2 separate regions of the Homo sapiens genome follow, and region 2 is linked to region 1. Evidence: promoter capture Hi-C in human tissues and cell types (Jung and others, 2019). All regions are on one chromosome and are shown on one strand. Each heading gives the region's core, a stretch centred on a gene start or on the middle of the fragment in contact. The rest is flanking DNA. Distances are from core to core; before and after follow the strand shown. Region 1 holds the start of PRKCZ (protein kinase C zeta). Region 2 overlaps CFAP74 (cilia and flagella associated protein 74).

Region 1 (5,090 bases), core at 1,362-3,861:
CTGGGACTCCCTGAAAACACAGGTGCCTGGGGACCCCTCAGGCCCACAGGGGGCGGGGTGGGGTGGCGAGGATTGGATCTCAAGTGTGCTCAGAGGGCCCTGGGAGGACAGGCAAGGATGACGGGGTGGCCATGCCCCATGGGGGTGACTGAAGTGCTCTTCCTTTTTCTAAAGACTAGTCTTCCACGTGTCCACGCTCAGCTACCCCCACGGACAGCAGCGTCTCACCCCAGGGACAGAGTTTCTAGGGCTTTCAATAACCCAGTACTCATCCTGGCAGCCGCTTTCTGGAACTGTGTCATTGCCCTAAGGCCTGAGTGTCCCACCCCACAGCCAGTCCCCTCAGAGAGGCACCGGGTGCCCAGAGGGACGAGGAGCCAGAACGGGGAGAAGGGTACTTCACACTCTGCAGCAGAGAGGAGGAGGACCTGGGAGGGGAGAGAGGAGAGAAGGAATGGTAGGAGCAGGGAAGAGCCAGAGGGGAGACGTGCCCTAGAAGGGGGAGGAAGGTGAAGGAAGAGGTGTGGCAGGGAAGGGAGAGAGGGGAGAGCGGGAAGAGGAGGGAAAACAACAGGGAAGGAGGGAGGAAGAGGAAGGGGTGGGGAGAGAGGGGAGAGAGTCCGGGAAGGGAGGGAAGAGGAAGGGGTGGGAGCCTGGTCTCTCCAGCCTGGGAAACCAGAGTCACCGGGTGGAATTACACCCGCCCCACCACCAAAGTGCTCCCAGGGGCCAAAGCAAGGCAGAGGGAGGACGGGGCGGCCCAGAACTCCAGTGGCATTGCCTCCGAGCCTTGGTCCCAGGAATTGGACGCCGGAATGCAGGAGGGTCTGGGCCCCTGCAGCCCCTCGGGTGTGGACCTCCCTCTCGCAGGACTCCCCTGAGCTCCGCACCATCACCTGTTGCCCAGTGTGGTGGCTCCAGAATGGCAAGGAGACAGGAAGCCCAGGTCCCTGGACAAGTCCAATAGCCAGAACGTCAACCATACCAAGTTTTAACCTGCTGACCTCCAGGCCAAAAGACATGGCTGCCCTACCTCTTCAGGTAGGGCTGGACGGTCAGTCCCCCAGAAATCCCTTTCTTCTGGTTCTGGCACCAAACCCGGGCCACTGCACCCCGAAGGTTCCAGGTGCTTGCCACAGGGGAGCTGCAGAGGCCCCAACCTTCCCAAAGAAGAGACAATTGAGCCTCCTCAACAAACCCGGGGCCAAGCAGCCCCAGATGGCTGACCCGAGACCCCAAGACAAGGTTCGCAGGAAGCTGAACCCGCTCAGACTCGCAGGGCACCATAGAGACCCCCGGGGCACTGTCCTGAGAGGACGTGGCCCGGGGAAGTTGTCACCCGCCTAACCCTGCCGGCCGTCCCTGCCTCTGGGGCTCAGGTTGCCCACGCTGTAGCTGAGGACGCACCGGGGCAGGAGCAGCTTTTCGAGATCCCAAGGACCAGCCAGTGCAAGTCCGGAGCCCGCATTCTGCTCCCCTCCCTCTCTGCAGCAGCAGCCACCCTCGCGGGAGCGGAGGTCCCAGTTCGGGGCTCCTGGAGACGCGCACAGGTGGAAGAACAAACCCACGGGTCCTCCCCTCCCCACCGCCCACACTTCGGGGGGCAGCGACCCCTCCGCTGTGCCTGTGAGCCCGGCCACCTGGTGCAGCCCCCGCCACCCCCAGCAGCGCTGCCCCGAGGCGGCGGCCAAGAGTCCAGGACCCCTCCGCTCCAGCACCTGACCGCGCCCCCTCCCACAGCCAGGCAAGGGCCTCCGGGGGGCGGGTGCGACGCAAACCCCAGGGTCAGTCTCGGCCCCACCGTCTCCTCCAGAAACCCCTGTCCCCGCCCGACCGCCCCGAGCCCTGCCGGGGGCTGCATTGGAGCCACAGCGCCCGCGCCCCGGGTCTCCGGATTTTGGCTAAAGCGAGACCCCCGACCGGGTAAACGTGGAGAACGTTTAGGAAACGCTGATTTTAAGAAACCCGCCAGGAGTTTTCACAACTTGATGAAAACTTTCAGTCCTTACAGGTTTGCGGCCGGAACGTCCCCGCCCAACTTTCCAGCGAAAACGTCTACCACAATGACCGGGCCGAGGAGCTCGCGGCGCGGGGCCGACCCCAGGGAAACCCGGTCCCGGGGAAGGAGCCCGCGCTGTCCACGACGTGTCCGCGGGTGACGCTCACGGGCGGGGACCGAGGACCTCCCGCGACAGCCCCGGGCCCGCAGCGACCTCGCCGCCCCTTCCCTCTCTCCCTCTCGCGCAGGAGCCCCGACGGCTGAGCCCTCCCCGCCCTCCCTGCCTCACCCGCGCCGCTCCCCGCCCTCTCCGCCGCTCACCCCCCGTAATGCGCCTTGAGGCGGACGCGGCCGCCGCTCCCTTCCATCTTGGGGCCGGTCCTGCTGGGCATGGCGCGCTCCCCCCGCCGCCGTCAGCGCTGCGCCCCGGGAGCTCCGGCCATGGCGCGGGGCGGGGGCTCCAGGTGGGGCCGCGGCGGAACGCGGAAGGCAGCGCTCAGGACCGACGGCGCCGACCCGGTCAACTCCGCGGAACTCCGGCGGCGCGCGGGGCGGGAGCGGGGGGCGCGCGGGGCGGGACCGTCCGGCGGGGGCGGGGGGCGGTGTCCGAACATGGCGGACCGAGGTGGAGCCAGCGGCCAATCCGCGGGGCGGGCGGTCCCGGGGCGGGCGGTGGCACCTGCGGCCAATGAGGGCGAGGCGGGGCCGCCACCTGGGCCAATCCTCGGGGGACACCCGGCCGCGGCCCAATGGCGAGGCGCGGGCGGGGCTACCTGTCGGGCGGGGCTACCTGTTGGGCGGGGCGCGGCGCACCTGCGCCAATGGGACCGCGCGCGGCGCGGCTCTGCCCGGCAACCGGAGGGGCCCCGGCCTCTGGGACGGAGCGGCGCCCCCGGGAACTCGCTGGAAACGCGAGTTCTCGGCCTTCGCCCAGACCCTCCGAATCGAAACTCCTGCGGCGCGCGCTGCCAGCCCGAGGGCCCCGCCGTCCAGGGGTCCCCTGACATCTCACACTTGCGGACTGAAGCTGCGAGGAGCGGAGAACCCGGCCAGGGTCACGGACGGGAGCGTCCGGACTCGGGTTCTCTGGGCCCCAGCCCCCACTCCGCCCCCAGCGAATCCAAGGTCCCCTGTAGGGAAGGGCCGTCCACACTCGTGAGTGCAACCGCTCACTTCGCCCAGGTCAAGGACGCGGCATTGGCCCGAGTCGCCCATGACCTTCATTTCTGAAGCCACAGCCTCTCGGGCCTTACTCGAGGGGCTTGATCTGGACAATCGCCCTCCAGGCCCCTCCACCGCCGCCCAGCTCCCTGCCTCCTGGGCTCCTCCCCTGAAAATACGGTTTTCCCTGATCAGCCCATCCCTTACTGGCTGCATCCACTGAAGCCCAGACCTGCTGCCTGCAGGACCTCACCCAGGCACCAGGTGGACACCCAGACCCAGTTCCTGGCCTCGGCCCCTCTCCCCTGAGAGTGGACCTGCTCAGGCCACGCCCTCACACCCCTCACCCAGACACAGCCACCAGGACTTCAGCCACGTGCTTTCATCCCGCAGGTCGTGCCTGGCGCCTCCTTGATGCCAGGCCCTGGGGAGACCTGTGGCCACAGAACCCATGTTCTCCCTGGAGATGGACAGGAGGCCCCTCTCCTACGCAGAAGCTGTCGTTTTTTCTTCTTAAACACCGTTTGCCCCTCCCTCCACCCACCGAGCCATCTCTGCCCCTCTCTACAGCAAAGCTTCCGCCAAGCCGGCCCTGCTCCCTGTCTACCTCTCCTGCCACCACCCACTCACACGTTTTAAATACAAGCCGTCGGTTCTCAGACGTTTTCTCTTTTTTTCTTTCTTTTTCTTTTTTTTGAGATGGAGTTTCGCTCTTGCTGCCCAGGCTGAGTGCAATGGCATGATGTCGGCTCACTGCAACTTCTGCCTCCTGGGTTCAAACCATTCTCCTGCCTCAGTCTCCCAAGTAGCTGGGATTACAGGTGTCCACCACCATGCCCAGCTGATTTTTGTATTTTTAGTAGAGACGGGGTTTTTCCATATTGGCCAGGCTGGTCTCGAACTCCTGACCTCAGGTGATCCACCTGCCTTGGCTTCCCAAAGTGCTGGGATTACAGGCGTGAGCCACTGTGCCCGGCCTCAGACATTTTCTTAACTTGGCCTTTGGTATCAGACCCCTCCTGGGAAGGCTCACACATCCCTGGCCCCGGGTTCCAGCTCCCTAAATCTCCCATCCCTCGCCCTCCTGGTCTGCAGCTTTTAAAACTGTGGAGCCCCAGCCTCAGCCTTTGGCCCGCTTTGCATCCCCAGCTCAGATGGGCCCCCTGAGCTCCCAACCAACACTCACCCAGCCCCAGGCATCCTCCTAATGAGCCTCTCAGCTGACGTCTTCCCCCACTCCATCTTTCTGGGTCATCGAAGTCCCCCCAGTGGTTCCCATCACTCCTGGAGGGAAGGCCAGCTCCTCTGCCCCGGCCTCGAGGCCTCTTTGCTGCCCCGGCCTCCGTCTTTGCACGGCCACTCCCTCTTTGCACAGCCACTCCCTCTTCCAGGAGCACCTGCCTGCAGAGATCTGCTGGACTGGCACCCACACTTCCTTGAAGTCTCTAGCATACCTAATGCCCATTTCAGCAATCTACTCCTCACCCCCATCTCCATGGGGCAACCCCCTCTATCCCTCGCACAGGCACAAAGCCCCATGCCCATCAGCTGGGCATGAAGGGGGGCAGAGAGTAGAGGGTGAGGGGGCAGCCTGGCAGGGTACAGTGATGAGTGGGAACCTGCACCTGCAGCAGCCCTGGATTCAGGCACCCGTCGGCCCAGCTCCCCCACTCCAGGCCCCATGGCCAGGGCTGTGGCCTTGTCTGGAGTCTGGCCTGGCAACATGGCCTGGGCGCTTCCTGATGGGCAGGAAAGAGCAGGGTTTCACCTTAGTGGGGCGGTGCCTGGAAGGGGCCACTGGGCACCCACAGGACTTCCTGGCTGGCGTTCTGATCCAAGGAGGCAGCAAGGCCCGGTCCTTGATACCACTGCCCACAGCAGGCAGGACGGACCCTCGGTTGTGTCCTTCCCTGTCACTGGACATCTCTCC
Region 2 (5,090 bases), core at 1,616-4,115, 58 kb after region 1:
ATCCGCCCACCTCGGCTTCCCAAAGTGCTGGGATTACAGGTGTGAGCCACCTCACCTGGTTTGTTCTTCAACATTTTTACGAGAATTAAAGTACAGTCCTATCCGGCATTTCTGATGATTTTCAGTGTGATGCCAGCACACTGGCTAGCCATGTCACCACAGTGGAACTTCCACTGCTTCTTCAGCACGCTTTCCTGGGTCTCTCAGTTCCCAATCCCACTGCTCCCACTGGAGGACCACCTGAAGCTGCCCAGTCCTGAACCTTTCACAGCTGTGTGGCGACGTCGGGTTTGTTCTCAGCTTCTCCTGCAGAGGGTCAGCCAGCGCCTCTGTCTGCAGGGACAGCTACCCTCATCCCTCCACCTCCCGCTTCTCTTTGCTCCTGTTTCTCCCAATGACCCTTGCCCTGGTAGATTCATGTACTGAAAACAATAAATCTACCCCCTGTTGTTAGTGAGGACTCAGGAGAGATCAGAGGTGGCTGCCTGTTGGAAGTGCCGTCTTTAACCGGATGCTCAGTGTATATGGTTTAGTGTGATCATCTTCAGAGGAACTGTGTGTGTGCAATGACACCTTTTAGAAGACTGACATCCACGGGGTGTCCAGCAAAATGACGTCGCGGAGGCCGCATGGAATTCACAAGCACAGAGCTGAATAGGTTTGGCCATTTTCTAAATAGTTTCTGAAAATCCTGCCATTCAAAGACTAGCAGCTTAATCAGTTCTTTCAAGTGGAAAAAATATTGTTGGAATTTTACAAGATGCCTTAAAATTCTGCCTCCCAGGACTTTAAAATGCAATTGTTTCTTTGTAAGTTTAAAAAATTACTGGCATTGATACATTAATAATTTATCCAAGAAACATTGCTAGGCACTGAAAATATTTTTAGTGAATTATTCTGAAGCGATTGCTAAGTTAAGCAATGAAACACAGTCCTCTACAATTTTACAGTTTTAGCATCTCATACATAATGTCAACATTTATGTACATTTCACCCGGAATTACTCATTATTTCAATGCAAAATGGTAGTGCTAATTCCCAATGTTAAATGTCTGTCTCTATACTAGGTACATTGACTTAAAGCTTTTTTTTTTTTTTTTTTTAACCCTTTTAGAGTCAGGGTCTTGCTCTGTCACCCAGGCTGGCCTGCAGTGGCACAATCACAGCTCACGGCAGCCTCGACCTCCTGGGCTCAAGTGATCCTCCCACCGCAGCCTCCTGAATAGGTGGGACTACAGGTGCCCACCACCACGCCTGGCTACATTTTTTTATTTTTATTTTATTTTTATTTTTTTTGAGACGGAGTCTTGCTCTGTCGCCCAGGCTGGAGTGCAGTGGTGTGATCTCGGCTCACTGCAAGCTCCGCCTCCCGGGTTCACGCCATTCTCCTGCCTCAGCCTCCCGAGTAGCTGGGACTATAGGCGCCCGCCACCACGCCCGGCTAATTTTTTGTATTTTTAGTAGAGGTGGGGTTTCATTGTGTTAGCCAGGATGGTCTCGATCTCCTGACCTCGTGATCCACCTGCCTCGGCCTCCCAAAGTGCTGGGATTGCAGGCGTGAGCCACTGTGCCCTGCTGATTTATAAGCATTTGACATCAGCTGTTTTGTATATTAATCATGGTACAAGCACAATGTGATTAATAGGCGTTAAAACCAATCACATATTTAAGGTCTAATAGAAAACAGCCACCGGCCGGGCACGGTGGCTCACGCCTCTAGTTCTAACACTTGGGAAGGCCAAGGCAGGTGGATCACTTGATCCCAAAAGTTTGAGACCAGCCTGGGCAACATGGCAAAACCCTGTCTCTACAGAAAATACAAAAATCAGTTGGGTGTGGTGGTGCGTGCCTGTAGTCCCAGCTCCTTTGGGAGGCTGAAGCAGGAGGATCAATTGAGCCCAGGAGTTGGAGGCTGCAGTGAGCTGTGATCGCACCACTGCACTCCAGCCTGGGTGACAGAGTCAAACCCTGTCTCAAAAAAATAAAAGAAAGTTAGCCATTAAATTTAATTCTCACCAGAAAAAAATAAGTAAAGAGTTTGTGATTTTAACATTGTTTCTTTTTTTTTTTTTTTTTTTTGAGACAGTCTTCCCCTGTCGCCCAGGCTAGAATGCAGTGGCGTGATCTCGGCTCACTGCAACCTCCGCCTCCTGGGCTCAAGCAATTCTCGGGCCTCAGCCTCCCAAGTAGCTGGGACTACAGGTGCCTGCCACCATACCTGGCTAGTTTTTGTATTTTTAGTAGAGATGGGGTTTCACCATGCTGGCCAGGCTGGTCTCAAATTCCTGACCTCAAGTGATCTGCCCACCTTGGCCTCCCAAAGTGCTGGGATTATAAGCGCGAGCCACTGTGCCCGGCCTGTTTCTTAAGTGAAATTATTTAGTTCCAACATCTGGACACAGAAGATTCGGTACCAAGAGTTCCACACGAGCAAGCTCCTAACATTCCCAAAATGATAAGCAAAGTGTAATGATAATTTTGAAATTATTTAAGAATTGTTTTTGGGCCAGGCGTGGTGGCTCACGCCTGTAATCCCAGCACTTTGGGAGGCCGAGACAGGTGGGTCACGAGGTCAGGAGATCGAGACCATCCTGGCTAACACAGTGAAACCCCATCTCTAATAAAAATACAAAAAAATTAGCTGGGCGTAGTGGTGGGCGCCTGTAGTCCCAGCTACTCGGGAGGCTGAGACAGGAGAGGGGCGTGAACCCAGGAGGCAGAGCTTGCAGTGAGCCAAGATCCCGCCACTGCACTCCAGCCTGGGAGACTGAGCGAGACTTCATCTCCAAAAAAAAAAAAATTGTTTTTGGTGCCAGATGTAGTGGCTCAAGCTTGTAATCCCAGCACTTTGGGAGGTTGAGGTGGGTGAATCCTGGCTGAGACCAGGAGTTCAAGACTAGCCTGGGCAACAAAGAGAGACCCACCATCTCAACCAATAATTTGAAAATTACCTGGGCATGGCGGCATGTGCGTGTAGTCTTAGCACTTGTGAAGCTGAGGCGGGAAGATTGCTTGAGCCCAGAAGTTTGAGGCTGTAGTAAACTGTGATTGTGTCACTGCACTCCAGCCTGGGCAACAGAGTGAGACCCTGTCACAAAAGAAAACAGAAATTGCCCAACAGTGTTCCAGAGTATCCCTTTACACTCCCACCAGCAACGCGTGACGATGCCAGCCCTTCCATAGCCTTGCCAGTGCTCACTGTTGGCAGCGTTTTGATCTCAGGCATTTTTTTTTTTTTGAGACGGAGTCTCGCTCTGTCACCCAGGCTGGAGTGCAGTGGCGCGATCTCGGCTCACTGCAAGCTCCGCCTCCTGGGTTCACACCATTCTCCTGCCTCAGCCTCCCGAGTAGCTGGGACCGCAGGCGCCTGCCACCATGCCCGGCTAATTTTTTCTGTTTTTTAGTAGAGATGGGGTTTCACTGTGCTAGCCAGGATAGTCTCGATCTCCTGACCTCGTGATCCGCCCACCTTGGCCTCCCAAAGTGCTGGGATTACAGGTGTGAGCCACCACGCCCAGCCAATCTCAGGCATTCTACTCAGTATATAATAGTATCTCATTATGGCTTGATTCATATTTCCTTAAAGATACTGATGTTACACAGTTTCACATGCATATTGGCCATTTGTATATCTCTTTTCTTATGGAATTCCAAATCTTTTGACATTTTTTTCTTGAGATGGAGTCTCGCTCTTGTCCCCAGGCTGGAGTGCAGTGGCACTATCTCGGCTCACTGCAACCTCTGCCTCCCGGGTTCAAGCAATTCTCCTGCCTCAGCCTCCTGAGTAGCTGGGATTATAGGCATGCGCCACCACACCCAGCTAATGTTGTATTTCATTATTTTAATTTGGTATTTGCTGGTGGGAGTGTAAAGTGATACTCGAGGATACTGTTGGGCAGTTTCTTTTTTCTTTTGTGACAGGGTCTCACTCTGTTGCCCAGGCTGGAGTGCAGTGGTGCCATCACAGCTCACTGTAGCCTCACCACGTTGGCCAGGCTGGTCTGGAACTCCTGACCTCAGGTGATCCACCTGCCTCGGCCTCCCAAAGTGCTGGGATTACAGGCATGAGCCACCGCGCCCGGCCTCTTTGACCTTTTAAACTGGAGTTTGGACTTCATGTGGTTGATAGGAGCTCTTCATGTGTTCCAGATGTAAGACTTGTGTCAGATATGTGTGTGCTGCAAATATTTTTTCCTAATCTGTCGTTTGTTTTCTTAATGCCTTCTTTAAGAGAAATGGTTAATTCACCGTCTTTTAAATCTATGATTTTATTGATCTATATTTTGCGATCATCTTTTGCAGCTAATTTCTATCTCCCAGCATGGAGGATGACGGCAGCCTGCTCCCTGAGGACGAGCTTTTGGCCGATGCCCTTCTTTTGGAAGATGGTAATAAAGCTTCTTTCACAGTAACGGAAGTTTCAGCAAAAAGACAAACAAATGACATGCTTCATAGTAGCCCTTTAATTCCCTTTATTTCTGGGAGAGGGTATCTTTTACACTCATATTTTTCTCTCAAAGAGGGAGCTTATATTATTGTCTTTATTTGAAAGAAAGATAAATTGTGGCTGAGATGTTGAAGGCGGCAGACCATAGTTTTCTAGTTTCCAACATCAGTATTGAGAAATCTGATGCCATTTTTATCCCAATCCTTTGAATGTGACCTATTTTTGTTTTCTTTTCCTGGAAGCTGTTTTTAAAAAATCTCTGATGATCTGAAATGTTACTGAGACGTGCCTTGATTTGGTTCTAGTTCTGGGCACAGGCAGGCCATCGCAATCTGGGAACGCATTTCCTTCCCACCCCCACCCCACTCCCCACCCCGTTTTGGGTTCTGTTGTGTGCTGAGTCAGCTCCTGGCGCTGTGTGGCCTTCTCCCCCCTGCCCCCCGCCACTGTCTCCCTCTCCCGCCCCCCTTGTGACTGTGGCTTTCTGCCTTTTCCATCATTTTTACTGAGATTTAATGAAGGGAAGAAAAACTGTGTTCCCTTTGCCGTGTTTTGCCGGAAGTCCGCTGTAATCTTCTGAGATAGTGACCTTCAGCCTCTTTTGTCTGAGAACCCCTTTACATTCTTAAAAATTATTGAAGAC

The links. The method cuts DNA at HindIII sites, captures the fragments that hold promoters and counts their contacts. A contact is called where the count stands out against the background at its distance.
Region 2: a fragment that was not itself captured here is called in contact with the fragment with the promoter of PRKCZ in region 1 in 7 of the 25 tissues and cell types used here (H1 embryonic stem cells, IMR-90 fibroblasts, dorsolateral prefrontal cortex and 4 more).

The regions. Positions count from the first base shown.
Region 1 is chr1:2,047,932-2,053,021 of GRCh38, reverse strand. It overlaps PRKCZ (protein kinase C zeta), which reads right to left and starts at 2,611. Exons shown (of 18, transcript NM_002744.6): 1 at 2,321-2,611. The coding sequence starts at 2,391. It overlaps PRKCZ-DT (PRKCZ divergent transcript), which reads left to right and starts at 2,952. Exons shown (of 3, transcript NR_135509.1): 1 at 2,952-3,154; 2 at 3,356-3,424; 3 at 3,554-3,821. RefSeq lists a silencer at 2,424-3,033 and an enhancer at 4,969-5,090. The HindIII fragment of the contact is 14,073 bases long and covers 1-4,838 here.
Region 2 is chr1:1,990,188-1,995,277 of GRCh38, reverse strand. It overlaps CFAP74 (cilia and flagella associated protein 74), which reads left to right. Exons shown (of 39, transcript NM_001304360.2): 2 at 4,303-4,388. The coding sequence starts at 4,322. Among named protein-coding and RNA genes, the nearest start is that of CFAP74, 11 kb to the left of the region's middle. The HindIII fragment of the contact is 5,694 bases long and covers 19-5,090 here.